Regions from separate parts of the Homo sapiens genome. Here region 1 is linked to region 2. The links are contacts of gene promoters, found by promoter capture Hi-C in human tissues and cell types (Jung and others, 2019). All regions are on one chromosome and are shown on one strand. Each heading gives the region's core, a stretch centred on a gene start or on the middle of the fragment in contact. The rest is flanking DNA. Distances are from core to core; before and after follow the strand shown.

Region 1 (5,930 bases), core at 390-2,889, 53 kb before region 2:
CACTGGCGTGGGGATGTTCTTCAAGGCATGGGAGTCATGCAGAGAGGAGCAGAGAGGCTGGAGAGAAGCCCCAGGTGCTCAGATGCTACAGGCTGGGTCCTGGAGGAGCAGTCAGCCAAGGACAGGACTGTCCTCAAAGCCAAGGAGGGGGCTGTCCCCAAAGCCAAGGAGAGGGTTTCCAGATGGCCAACAAGGACGTGAGGGCCTGGCCTCCTGGCCTGGTGTCACCCACACGCACTCAGGGCCGACATGCTCACCAGCCCCTGCTAACGTGCCCCAGACACCCTGGCCTGAGCCTGCCTGTCTTGAAGTCCCCTCATCAAGAACACAGCTCTCAATGCAAGCTGGAATGAGTTCAGCTGGAGATGGACCCCAGAACCCAGCCCTTCAGGGGAACTCACCTTTCCTCCTTGTTTTTGCAGATACACTCCCCAATAATCTCCTTGATTTCAGGATCGTGCACTTTCTCAAAGCTGGCCGGCTTGATACCCTGACAGGGAGAGAGCAGAGTTACCTGACCCGATCGGCTGCCGGAAGGCGAGGCCTCCACCACAGTGGGAGGAACTCCCACTCCCAGCCACGGCAGGACACGGGCACTGGACTTAACCTGCACAAACTACTAGAAAACTGGGCAAAATATGTGAAACGGATGACAGGGCAGAGCCAAATGCGGGCTCTGGGAGAAAGGGACACAATCTCCCATGGCCCCAGCTCACTGCCCAGAGCAGTTCCCAGACAAGGCACCGTAAACCAGCAGAGCCCTGTGGCCCCACTGAGTTGAGGGGTAGAGCTGAGTTCAGGAAGGCTGAGGAGGCCACAGGCAGAGTTCCAGAAAGAAGAGAACATACAGCAAAAAAAAAAAAAAGAGCCCCAAGTATCTGCACCTTGGTCCCCTCCAGCCTTTGCTGAGGACCAGACCACAAAACCACATGTGCATTGTCAATGCCACAGGGCCGGGTGAAGAACCACAGGGAGCTGCAGGCAGGGCAATTCACAGAGTTCACACAGGTCAGGATGTGTACAATGTACAGCATCCAATCAAAAATTACTAGAAATGCTGAGATGCAAGAAAATGTGACCCACGACCTTGCAGAAAAGCCAGCCAACAGAAAGAGACCTACAAGTGAGAGGGGCTGCAACTTGTAGGCAAGCAGGTTAAAACTCTTTACAGATACATACAAGCAGTAAAGGAAAATGAACATAAAAAATGAGAGATAAAAACAGAACCAAATAGAACTCGAGATGAAAAGCCCATCTGAATCGAACACTTCACCGCAGCAGACTGACAGCAGATTACACACTGCAGAAAAAAGACGAGTGAACCTGAAGATGTGATGCAGCAGAGAAAGATGGTCACTGAGGCTCTATTCTGCTCATTTCAGAATCTGAAATGCTACCAAGGTCACATATGCACATGACATTCATAAAACTGGAATCCCAAAAAAGATAAGGGGACATAAAAAAAGACTTGAAGAAATAATGGCTGAAAATTTCACAACTTTGATGGAAACTCTAAGCCCATAGATGAAGCGAGATAAAGCCGAGCTGGGAATAAATTGAAGAATTCTGTGAAACCGCTGCAATTCCCTTCCAAATCTCCCCTCCCCACTGCTTGAAGCCAGGAGCCTGGTCTCCTACCATTCAGAACCTTCTTGGGTCACCCTACTTCTGTCAAAGCCACCATCACCCCGGCCACAACACACTGCACACCTCCACCTCAGCTGCAGAATTTGATACTGGGGTTAACACCTCAAATGCAGCAGTCAGTCTCTGGAAAGGTGTTGATCAGAGCTTCACCGAGCCTCCCAAGTAGGGCCACGAGGGCCCCTGTTCCAGGAGGCTAGTAGAGGCAGCGCCATGATGCGGTGGATGGGATGCCTCCTACAGAGCCGGGCCTTTCTAACCACACCTGGGCTTCCTCCCCACACCTCCTCCTTGAGGGTGCAGGAGCACTATTTGTGGTCACTGCTGCTGGCCAAGGGCCAGGCCATGCGGCTTTGTTGCGGGGGGGTGCGGGTGGCAGCCTGAGGGACAGTGGCTCCTCACCCAGCTGATGGCTGTGCATGAAGGGAGCAGAGGGCAAGCCCTGCAACCGGACTCAGAAGCAGCAGGGCGGGGCCAGGTGCTGCTTGCAATCTGCTAGGTTGTTTTGTGTTGGAAGTGGAGTAAGACGGTGTATGAGCAACTAATTTTAAAAAATTTTAAACACAATGAGGGTACCAACTATCACGTTCTTTCTCCTTCAACACGATTTAGCCTTCAAAAGCTTCACCTGACTCTTAATATAGAGAACATAAAGCATAAATTTTCCCAAGGTCAGGGAGGAGGGTGGGGGCACGCCCACCTGCCCTGGGTGCTGGAGCCCCCAGCCTGGGGCAGACACAGGAGTGAAGAACCTAAGGGCTCTGCCCAGTAGTGTACACCCCCAGGGTCGAGGAGCACCACCAGCCCCTGGGACAGCTTCAGGACAGACCACCATCCACCCTCCACAGTGAACCCAGGGGCCCTCCCATCCCACACCAGCACCCCAAGGCCTGGCAAATGGAGCTCTTAATCTCTGGAGCGCCCCACTTCCTCCTGCTGCAGACCATCCCTGCCTCCCTGGAGGGCCGCTGCACACAGCCAGCAGGTCCTGACACTCCTTCCAGTACCCACGGAAAACTGTGCACCTGTCTGTGAAGTTTCTGACCCAGGCCCACAGGTGAGTCAAGGACTCTGTCTGCCCTCCCACTTCCTCAGGGGCACACAGGAGGGGCTCAGAACAACCAAGTGACCGATGATTTACAACAACCAAGGGACAGAAATGCAGGTAATCTGCAAGGAGGGCTCGGGATGGAGGGATGGGTCAGAGTGAGGCTGTGCAGCTGCTGAGGACCACAGCCCCTGGTGCACCTGCAGAAGCAGCCATGGCCCCGCAGAGCAGCACTGAGGGGCAGCGCGGCCCCACCCAGTCAGGTGGCATGTGGAGACAGCAGGGACTGCAGGGATCAGGGCAGCCTGGGCCCTCAGTGCAGACGCCGCATGTCAGGGACAGCTCTGCAGGCCCCTGGGCTTCACAACAAGACGGGTGGTGCAGAAAACAGGCACAGAAAGCCTTGGCCTGGCCATTCCATTTCCAGATGTTCTGTTTGCATTCCCTCCACCCAGTGGGGCCACCACAGAGGGAGGACAAGACAGATCTGTTTATGCAGCTGAAGCCGTCCGATTAAAGAAAAAAATCACAGCGACAGCAAAACAGGGATTAACGTTCCCAGCTGCCTGGCGCTGACGACTGCCTAGAGACACACTTGGTGTAGGAGTGACTGGTTTAGCTGAAAAAGAAATCAAACCATTGTTTCAAAATGAAGAAGATAGGAAAGCAGGCAGCCATGGGCGGCCCAGAGTGTGAGCACTGGGGATGGGTGGCCTAGGCACGCCTCCAGGCAGGGGGCTATGGTGAAGCTCCAGCCTCTCTGAGCCTCAGTCTCCCCACCATCCCTGCTGTGAGAGCGACAGCCTCCATGGGTAAGCACTGCCCACAGCACCCCATGCACCACCATCCCTTCAGGTAGGAGACCTTGAGTAACCACCCCGCTACTAAGCCTCAGTTTCCCCCTCTGTAAAATGGCCAATCTCCTCAGTTTCCCCCTCTGCAAAATGGCCAAGCTCCTTACACAGCTGCCAGGATGGCTTTACAGAGCCACATGGAGCCCAGCCCAGGGTACGGCCCAAGGCCTCTGTGTCCTTATTAATTAACCAAGGGGCCAGGTGGACTCACACAGGTGACCTTGCGGTAGATCTGGGCCGCATTCTGGCACTCCGAGTAGGGGTACTCCGAGGTGGCCATCTCCAGCATGCACATCCCAAAGGCATAGACGTCCACGGACTCATCGTAGTGCTCCTCGTACATCTCGGGCGCCATGAACTCGGGAGTACCTGTGCCCGGAAGCAACAGACGCAGCTGTCAGCTGGCCACGGGCCCAGGAAGAGCTGGAGCCAGTGTCCCGGGAGCTTTGGCTGCCCAGAACCCCATGTCCCCTCCACATCCCATGGCACACTCAGAACACCTGGACCCCAGGGCCAGCCCTGCCCCTCACTTGGGACACAGGTGTGCTTTACAGACAGGGTTCCAAAAGTTCCACCTGGAACCACAGGAGTCCAGGGTTAGAAATCAGGTGACAGAGCCATCCCCTGCTCATAAGCTGGGAGACTATGACTTCCCAGGGGACGGGGTCCGAGCCTGGAAGGAGGCAAAACCCTGAGTACGCCCTCGCCTGTGGACACTATGATCCTGCCACAGGCTCGGCCGCAGCCACGTTCAGAAACCCTGGAGCAGAAAGAACTTGGGTTGCTACGGAGCTACCTAAAGCCACAAAACCCCTAAATGTCCCAAAGTGGGGAAAGGCTGGGTACACTCAGCCCACCCCTACAAGTGTCACGCAGCATGTACAACAGTCAGCATCACTGAAGACAGTGTCCCTGAATGAGGGTGGGGTAGAAAATGGTACCCACCTGACAGAACCACAGAGTTGCTAAGATGGGAACTGTATGTGGCTCCTAAACACAAGAGATGCAAAAACAGTGTCTTCACTGAATTTTTAAGGACATGGCAAAGTTATGATAGGCTGAGCAAAATGAGCATGAGGCTAGACGTGCTGGCTGGCCTCACCTATGCAAAACCAAACCCCCAGGGCAAGATGATGTCTGCAGGGGGCGAGGGCTGATTTTTATTTTACTTATATTGGTCTGGGGTTTCTCTATTCTCTATAATAAGCTTTAGCTTTCATAATACAGCAACTGTAAAGGCCTTTTTAATAAAATAAGTCCGGTTGCATGTCTGTCGCGCTGAATGCAAAGAAAGGGACTAGAGACTTCAGTACAGCTGCTTTTAACGTCTGGATGTTTGTTGACTTTGGAAGGTCTTCAAAATTTCTAGTTTCTTTTTAAAAGCTCAAGCTAACTAATTAGTGCATTTTAAAAGCACGTTTTGTTTACCCGTCATTTCAATTTAAAATGTGTTACTTTTTTTTTTTTTTTTTTTTGAGACGGAATCTCACTCTGTCCCCCAGGCTGGAGTGCAATGGTGCAATCTTGGCTCACTGCAACCTCCATCTCCCACCCAGGTTCAAGCAATTCTCCTGCTTCAGCCTCCCAAGTAGCTGGGACTACAGGCGTCTGCCGCCATGCCTGGCTAATTTATTTGTATTTTTGGTAGAGACAGGATTTCACCATGTTGGTCAGGCTGTTCTCGAACTTCTGACCTCAAATGATCCGCCCGCCTCAGCCTCCCAAAGTACTGGGATTAGAGGTGTGAGTCACTGTGCCTGGCCACTCTTTTTTAAAGTTAACATTTTGGATAAAAATTGGGACAAGAATATGGTTTAGATTTCAGTCTTAGGCACACAGAACTCTGGAAGAACCCATGAGAAACAACAGGAGCTGAGTGGAGGGGCCTGACGCCGGGAACTTTTATTCTTTTGGGTTTTTTAACCACATGATTATACTGAAAATTTGCTGCACTAGCAATTTTTTTTTTTTTTTTTTTTGAGACTGGATCGTGCCCTGTCGCCCAGGCTCGAGTGCAGTGGCATGAACACAGCTCACTGCAACCTCGACCTCCCAGTCTCAAGCAATCCTCCCACCTCAGCCTCCCAAGTAGCTGGGACTACAGGTGTTCACCATGCCGGGCCAATTTCTTTTTCTTTCTCTTTCTTTTCTTTCTTTCTTTATTTCTCTCTCTTTCCTTCCTTCCCCCGCCTTTTTTTTTTTTTTTTTTTTTGTAGAGACAGGGATCTCACTACATTGCCTAGACTAGCCTCGAACCCCTGAGCTTAAGCAATTCTCCTGCTTCAGCCTCATTCTCTAGGAGACTGAGCAGCTGAGGACACTCCTGGTTGTGGCCTCTCTAACCAAAGCTTCCTGGACTCCAGCTGAGCAAAAGCTGGGTTGAC
Region 2 (5,807 bases), core at 2,583-5,082:
TAGAGAAGGAGCACCCACCTGTCACCCTTCCCTGCTCAGTGAGACCTGACCCCACATCCCACCCAGGAGCACACTCCCCTCGCAGAGTCCAACGCCCCTCCCACAGCCCCTGATCTCCCTGCAGCCCTACACCCCACCCTCTTCCGTTCCACACGCCCAGCAGCCCCTGGCCCATACCCAGGACATCACACAGGCAGTCCCATCAGTCCTTCCAATAGCTCTGCACAAAGTCAGCCTACACCACTCTACACACAGGCAGGGGCCCTCCTCCCCTGATCCCACAATGCCCTGCCATCTCCTCACTGGTGACCTTGGGGGTTGTTCCCCTCAGTCCTCACAGTTTGTGATGACGAGACTTCCAGCACAGCCCCAACACACACCAAGTTCTCAGCAAAGGGGGCTATTCTAAGCAGGTCCAGACTCCCTCTCATGGAAAACCCTCTCAGATCAGCACAGAGAGAGCTGATCCCAAATGACACACATCGACTAGGGACAAATGTTGGAGGTACTTCTTTTGGGGGAGATGCAGGGAAACCACAAGTTTGGGGCACCAGTAACATCCTGGCAAGGAACATCAACATATAGACAAAAAGCATATAGACCAGAAGCACCTCTCGGTTGCTGTTCCCACCTAGAGTCAAGGAGCAAGAGACCCCTGGACAGAGGCCAGGCTCCACCCCATGCCTGCAGGGGACAGACCCAGAGACAGAATCGCCTGCGTTTCCTTAAAGGGAATGGGAACTAACAAGCTCCAAGAGTCACATGCGCCTGCGATGCCTCAGCCAGATCAGCAGGCTCTGGCTGCCGAGGTCTAACTCAAATCCAGCCTACTGCAGCACCCCTGTTCCATCCACCACCCTGCAGAGGCAGCACCTGAGGGTGCTCCGGTCAGAAGGGCAAGAGCAGGAAGACCGCTCGCCAGAATCAAGAGTCGTCTCCCCTTTCAGGCCCTCTCTTCTCTCTGCTTTCCCTTGCAGCAGGAATGCCCAGCACACCCCAGGACCCCCAGATCACAGCCCCCTGCCCCACCCACTGCCTTTCCTGTACCATCAGAACCTACAGGACCATGAGGGAGGGGAGCTGTTCAGTCCCTCCTAAGGACCTCACACAATGCCACTGACCCCTAACTTGAAAAGCCACATCTCCAAGGCAGAACCAAGGGGTGGTGGAGAGGCAGGTCTCTGGAGCTCTTTGTCTTGGGAGAAAGGCTGACGACAGGTCGACACCCACCGAATTATCCAGGCTTGCACACACACGCAGGCCACCCTGTCGGGGCCGGAGGATATAGCAATTGAATCCCACTTCTGAGTCAAAAATGCAAGAGTCCCGCAGTGTGGCCAGCGGCCCCAGAACACAGCTTGCCCCAGCTAGCCCCAGCCCCGTTTCAGGCCTGGACTGGACAGCCAGCTAACTTTACAGGCCAACAGAGTACACTTACACCTCCAGCCGGCACTCTCCCAGACTGGCTCACGCCTGACAGCTGCCCACCTCCAAGGAGGGAGGCCTGTAAACACCCCCTGGACAGGCATGGCCTCTGCTTCCTAGGCTGTCCCAGGACAGCTAAGGTGGCTGTTTATATAATCTTGCAGGGCTGGGGCTGACACCACGGTGATGGCAGGATTATGAAAAATGCATGCCCAGAGCCTCTGCAGCCAAGAAAAACCCCCACACGCATTCTGCATGACTCGGTTTTAAGACCTCTCACACGTCCATTTTGTGAACAAATGGAGCTCTCAGAGCAGCAGAGGCGACTAACCACACTTCCAGGCCTTGCCCAGCTGTCCCCAGAGCTCTACCAGGCACCACCTCTGGGTCACAGGCCCTGGGTCAGAAGAAGTCTCTGCAGGTATCCCTGCTGGGGCAGCCACGGCTTGCTGGACACAGGAAAGTACTAATTTATGGGCAGCCCAGAGCCCCCAAAACACTCTGACTGCACACACCGGGCCTTGAAGCCTCCACACTGTTTTGCAAAGACACAACAGTCCAGACTCCCTGGGTCATTAAAGTAGGTCATCGGGACTGGAGAAGCAGCAGCCTAAGAGACACAGCCTCCGAGGCCCACTCTCCAGGACCCTCTCTACGCCCACAGCGTGCACACTTACACCAAACGCACAACAGAGGCCTGCCCTCGCCACCAGCTGACTCACAAACCGCAACCTGCGCACGGACACAGCCAGGCCCCACATGCCGTCCGCACACCTGGTATGCATCCTGCCAGCCATCCACACAGAGGGTGACACACATGGAGCCCCGCCGCCCCCAGGGCTTCTTAAGGCCAGGCGCAGGAGCAAGGACAGGCCCAAGGACGCACTCGCGGACAGACCCTGCGGAAAGCCCCCTGCGGGCTGGGGCACCCTCACCTGCAGCTCACACCAGGCCACCTCCACCCAGGTCTCCGTGTCCAGCCCCTTGTAGACCGTCTTGAAGGAACCGCGGCCCAGCTCGATGTCGAACTTGAGGAAGCGGCCGTCCAGAGAGGTGGCCACGGCCTTGAGGTCGTCCTCGTCGTCCTCCTCCTCTTCGGGCTCGTCCCGGCGAGTGCGCCCGGGCTCAGGCTTCGCCTCGGCCGCCCCCTCATCCTCCTTCCTCACGGTCGCCGCCGCCTCCTCCCTGGGGCCGCCGTCGGGGGCAGGCGCGGTTTCGACAGCGGCTGCGATGGGGTCCGGGCCGGGCTCCTGCGTGCCCACGGGCTCGGGGCCGGCGTCCGCGGGGGCTCCGGGGGCTCCCGGCTGCGCTACCAGCGCTGCGGGCGCGGGGGCGGCGGGGCGTCCGCGGGCGCGCTCCGCGATGAGGCGGCGCGTCTTGCAGAGCAGAAGCACCCGGCGCTGCAGGGGCTGCGGGGGCTGCGGGCCCGGCGCCTCGGCTGCCTCCAAGCCCGGCGGCTCCTCCTGGTCCGACTCTACCACGCTGCGCCGCAGAAAGCGCTGGGGCCCCGGCCGCGCCGCCTTCGCCCGAGGCTCCGCCATGCCCGCGGGCCCCGCGCCGCGCCCGGGCTCCATCAGCGTGCCGGGGACGTCTCGGCGGCCGCCATCGCCGTCCATCTCTGTGGGCCAAGGACACACAGGCCCGCGTGAGCGCCGGCCCTGCCGCACCTGCCCAGGCCGCCGGATGAGACAACGCCGCCCTAAGCCCGCAACCTGCCCAGCCCCGGCCGCGGAGAGAGCCTGCGGGGGCCGTCTCTGGGGGCCCTGGGAAAGGGGGGCTGCAGACGGGACCAGAGGCTTGGGTTGGGGAGGAGGGGTCCGTGCCCTGCTCAGCCCCAGGCTGCGGAGAGGGACGGGCCTGTGGTGTCCCTGGAACCCTGGGAGAGAGGACCTGCTAGGGTGTCCCTGAGGGCCCCGGAGGCCGGCAGAGGGATCTCGCGCCCTGCCCAGCCCTGGCCCAGGAGGGTTCTGCTAGGCTGTCCCGGAGGCAGCTGTAAAGGGGATAGGGAAGCCCGGGGGTGGGAGGAAGGCAGTGGCCCGGCGGCGGCTCCACAAAGGACGCGGGCCCGGGGCGCGGGAGGGGCGCGCGGGGAGGGGGCTGCAGCGCCGCGGCGCGCACACAAAGGCGGCGAGCGGCGTTGAGGGGAGGCTCGGCACTCACAGGGCGAGCGGACGCCGTCCATGCCCGCGGCCCGGCGGCCAGGGCGTGCGAGGCGGGAGAGATCACGCTTCGAGGACGGGGTCCGAGTTCCGGGCGAGGTCCGCGCTGGGGTGGGGGCCGTGGCGCCGCTCCAGCTCCTGCGCGCTGCTCTCTCGGGCCGGGCCACTGCGGGGCCGCGCTCCCGCGTGCTCCTGCCGGCTTCGCGCGGCTCCGCTCCCGCACCGGCTCCGACCCGGCGCGCGGGGAGGGCGGGGCTCCGTTCGCCCCGCCCCGGACCGGCGCAGGGGGCTGGGCCTGGCACGCCCACCTGGCTGCGGACGGGCTGGCTGACTGGCAGGCGCGCGCGGCCACCTGCGGGCCGGCTACCTGGGCTCCCACCCGCGGTTCTTTGCTCGAGGTAGCGCTCCTGTCCTCTGAAGTTCTTTGGAACGCCCCGCAGGGCTGTCAGCTGCGGAGGACCCCGTTTCTTCCTGAGAGGAGGCAGCAGGCTCAACGCCTCAGCACGCCGCAGCCCGGCGCGCTAGACCTCAAGGCCCTGTGCCAGGACAGAATGGGCAGGCTAGGAAGAAAAGGACCAGGGGTACCGCCGCCCTCGGGAGCCCAGCCTGGGGCTAAGCCTGGTGGGGCTCAGCGTGTCCTTTCCTGCCCTCACTTCACCACCAGGAACCATGAGGACCTCATCATCACCCAGGGAGGCACTGGTGATCATTATGCCCATTTCACAGTCTAGAGCAAACTGAGGCGCCAAAGGCAGAAGTTATATGCTCTAAATCCCAGAACTTTCAAGACCGAAGCTGAGCTGGAATGCCTTGGATGGGATATGGAGAGGCTTCCAGAAGCCCCTTGACCCAAAGTGTTCTTCCTTCCCACCTCTGCCAGATGCCACCTCTCCCGAGAAGTCTTCCATGATCTCTAGCTCCTTCCTCCTCTAGACCCCCACGGACAAGCCCTCTCTTGGGCGTCTCTGGCCCTAATGCAGCAGGTGACCTGTGTCAGTAACCATACTGCTAAGTTCTGAGCCCTGCTCCAGGCAATGCCCTGAGCTAACACTTCACCCTTACCCCAGCCTCCATGATCCTAGGTGAGGAAACTGAGGCACAAGGGAGATACCAGAGTATTCTCATCTCAGTCCCCATCCCACTGGGCTGGCACCCCCATCAGATACACACACACTTCCAGAGATGAAAAGATGCTTGTGGGCCTGTAGGCCTTGGAGCCCCTGGCACAAAATAACTCATGTGGCATAAAAGCCAGCAGAGGCGATATCTCACCTTCACAATGTAGAGGGAAGAATATGCCAGGCCAACTGTTACCCAGAGAAGCAGGACTTCCTGGAGCCCCGCTGGGCACTGGCACTGGCTGAAACTAATTTGTGAGGGGCAACAGTGAACATCCCTTCCCAGCTCTGGGTTCAGCAATGCCACCCTGTAGCCTGAAGTCAGCAATGCTGGGAGTATTTACACTGCGGAAATTGGCAAACACCTCAAATCAGGACTTTTCTCCCCAGAGAGCCAGTGGTTAAATAGTGTGCTAGGTGTAGGGCTATGCATTTGGCACTTGCCTGTTATTTATATAATCTAATCTACCGTGTGAGACAGGCATTCATTCCGGGGCTCAAGTCCGCTGGCATGAGCCCAGAGCTCACACGAGGAGGAGGCCAAACAGCAGACGCCAGCTCTGCAGGACAGAGAGGCCTGAGGGACAGGGATCTAAGTTGCATCTCCTGGGGCAGGAGTCTTCCAGGTAGAGGTCAGGGGTGGAAAAGGATCTTTTCTGTCTTCCCTTTGGAGGCTAAAGACCCCCCAACCTTGCCCCTAACCAGCTGAGTGAACTTGGGCAAGTCCTGGTCCTTCCTGAGCCTCAGTATCTGGCCCTGCAGAGTGGGCTGATCATCCTGACTTGCCCACCTTAAAAGGCTGCCAATTCCTTGTAGATTCAGTCAATCTAGGAAGGGCACCAAGTCCACAGACCTGTTCATGATGGGTGTGTTCAAGCCTATCCAAGGGAAAACCAGGATGGGACAGAGCTAAGCGTGTTCTGAGACCAGCACACACCTATCTGGCCTCCTCCTGCTCCCAACAGGCCACACTGGCAGTGTGTGGGCAAAATACCTGCCAGCATCGGAGAAGGTTCATCAGCACCCATGGCTGCTGCCCACCCACACTTGTACACATGCGTGGGAAAGGATGGCTACACCCACAAATCAGCAGGGAGCAGCCCAG

Evidence for each region. Contacts are between HindIII fragments. The study calls those that stand out against the background at their distance.
Region 1: a fragment that was not itself captured here is called in contact with the fragment with the promoter of WNK2 in region 2 in 1 of the 25 tissues and cell types used here (bladder).

The regions. Positions count from the first base shown.
Region 1 is chr9:93,232,793-93,238,722 of GRCh38, reverse strand. WNK2 (WNK lysine deficient protein kinase 2) reads right to left here. Exons shown (of 30, transcript NM_006648.4): 5 at 3,758-3,915; 6 at 402-490. Among named protein-coding and RNA genes, the nearest start is that of WNK2, 52 kb to the right of the region's middle. RefSeq lists an enhancer at 171-671. The HindIII fragment of the contact is 3,742 bases long and covers 1-3,510 here.
Region 2 is chr9:93,182,164-93,187,970 of GRCh38, reverse strand. WNK2 (WNK lysine deficient protein kinase 2) reads right to left here and starts at 3,832. Exons shown (of 30, transcript NM_006648.4): 1 at 3,586-3,832; 2 at 2,361-3,043. The coding sequence starts at 3,041. RefSeq lists an enhancer at 829-1,794. The HindIII fragment of the contact is 13,924 bases long and covers 1-5,807 here.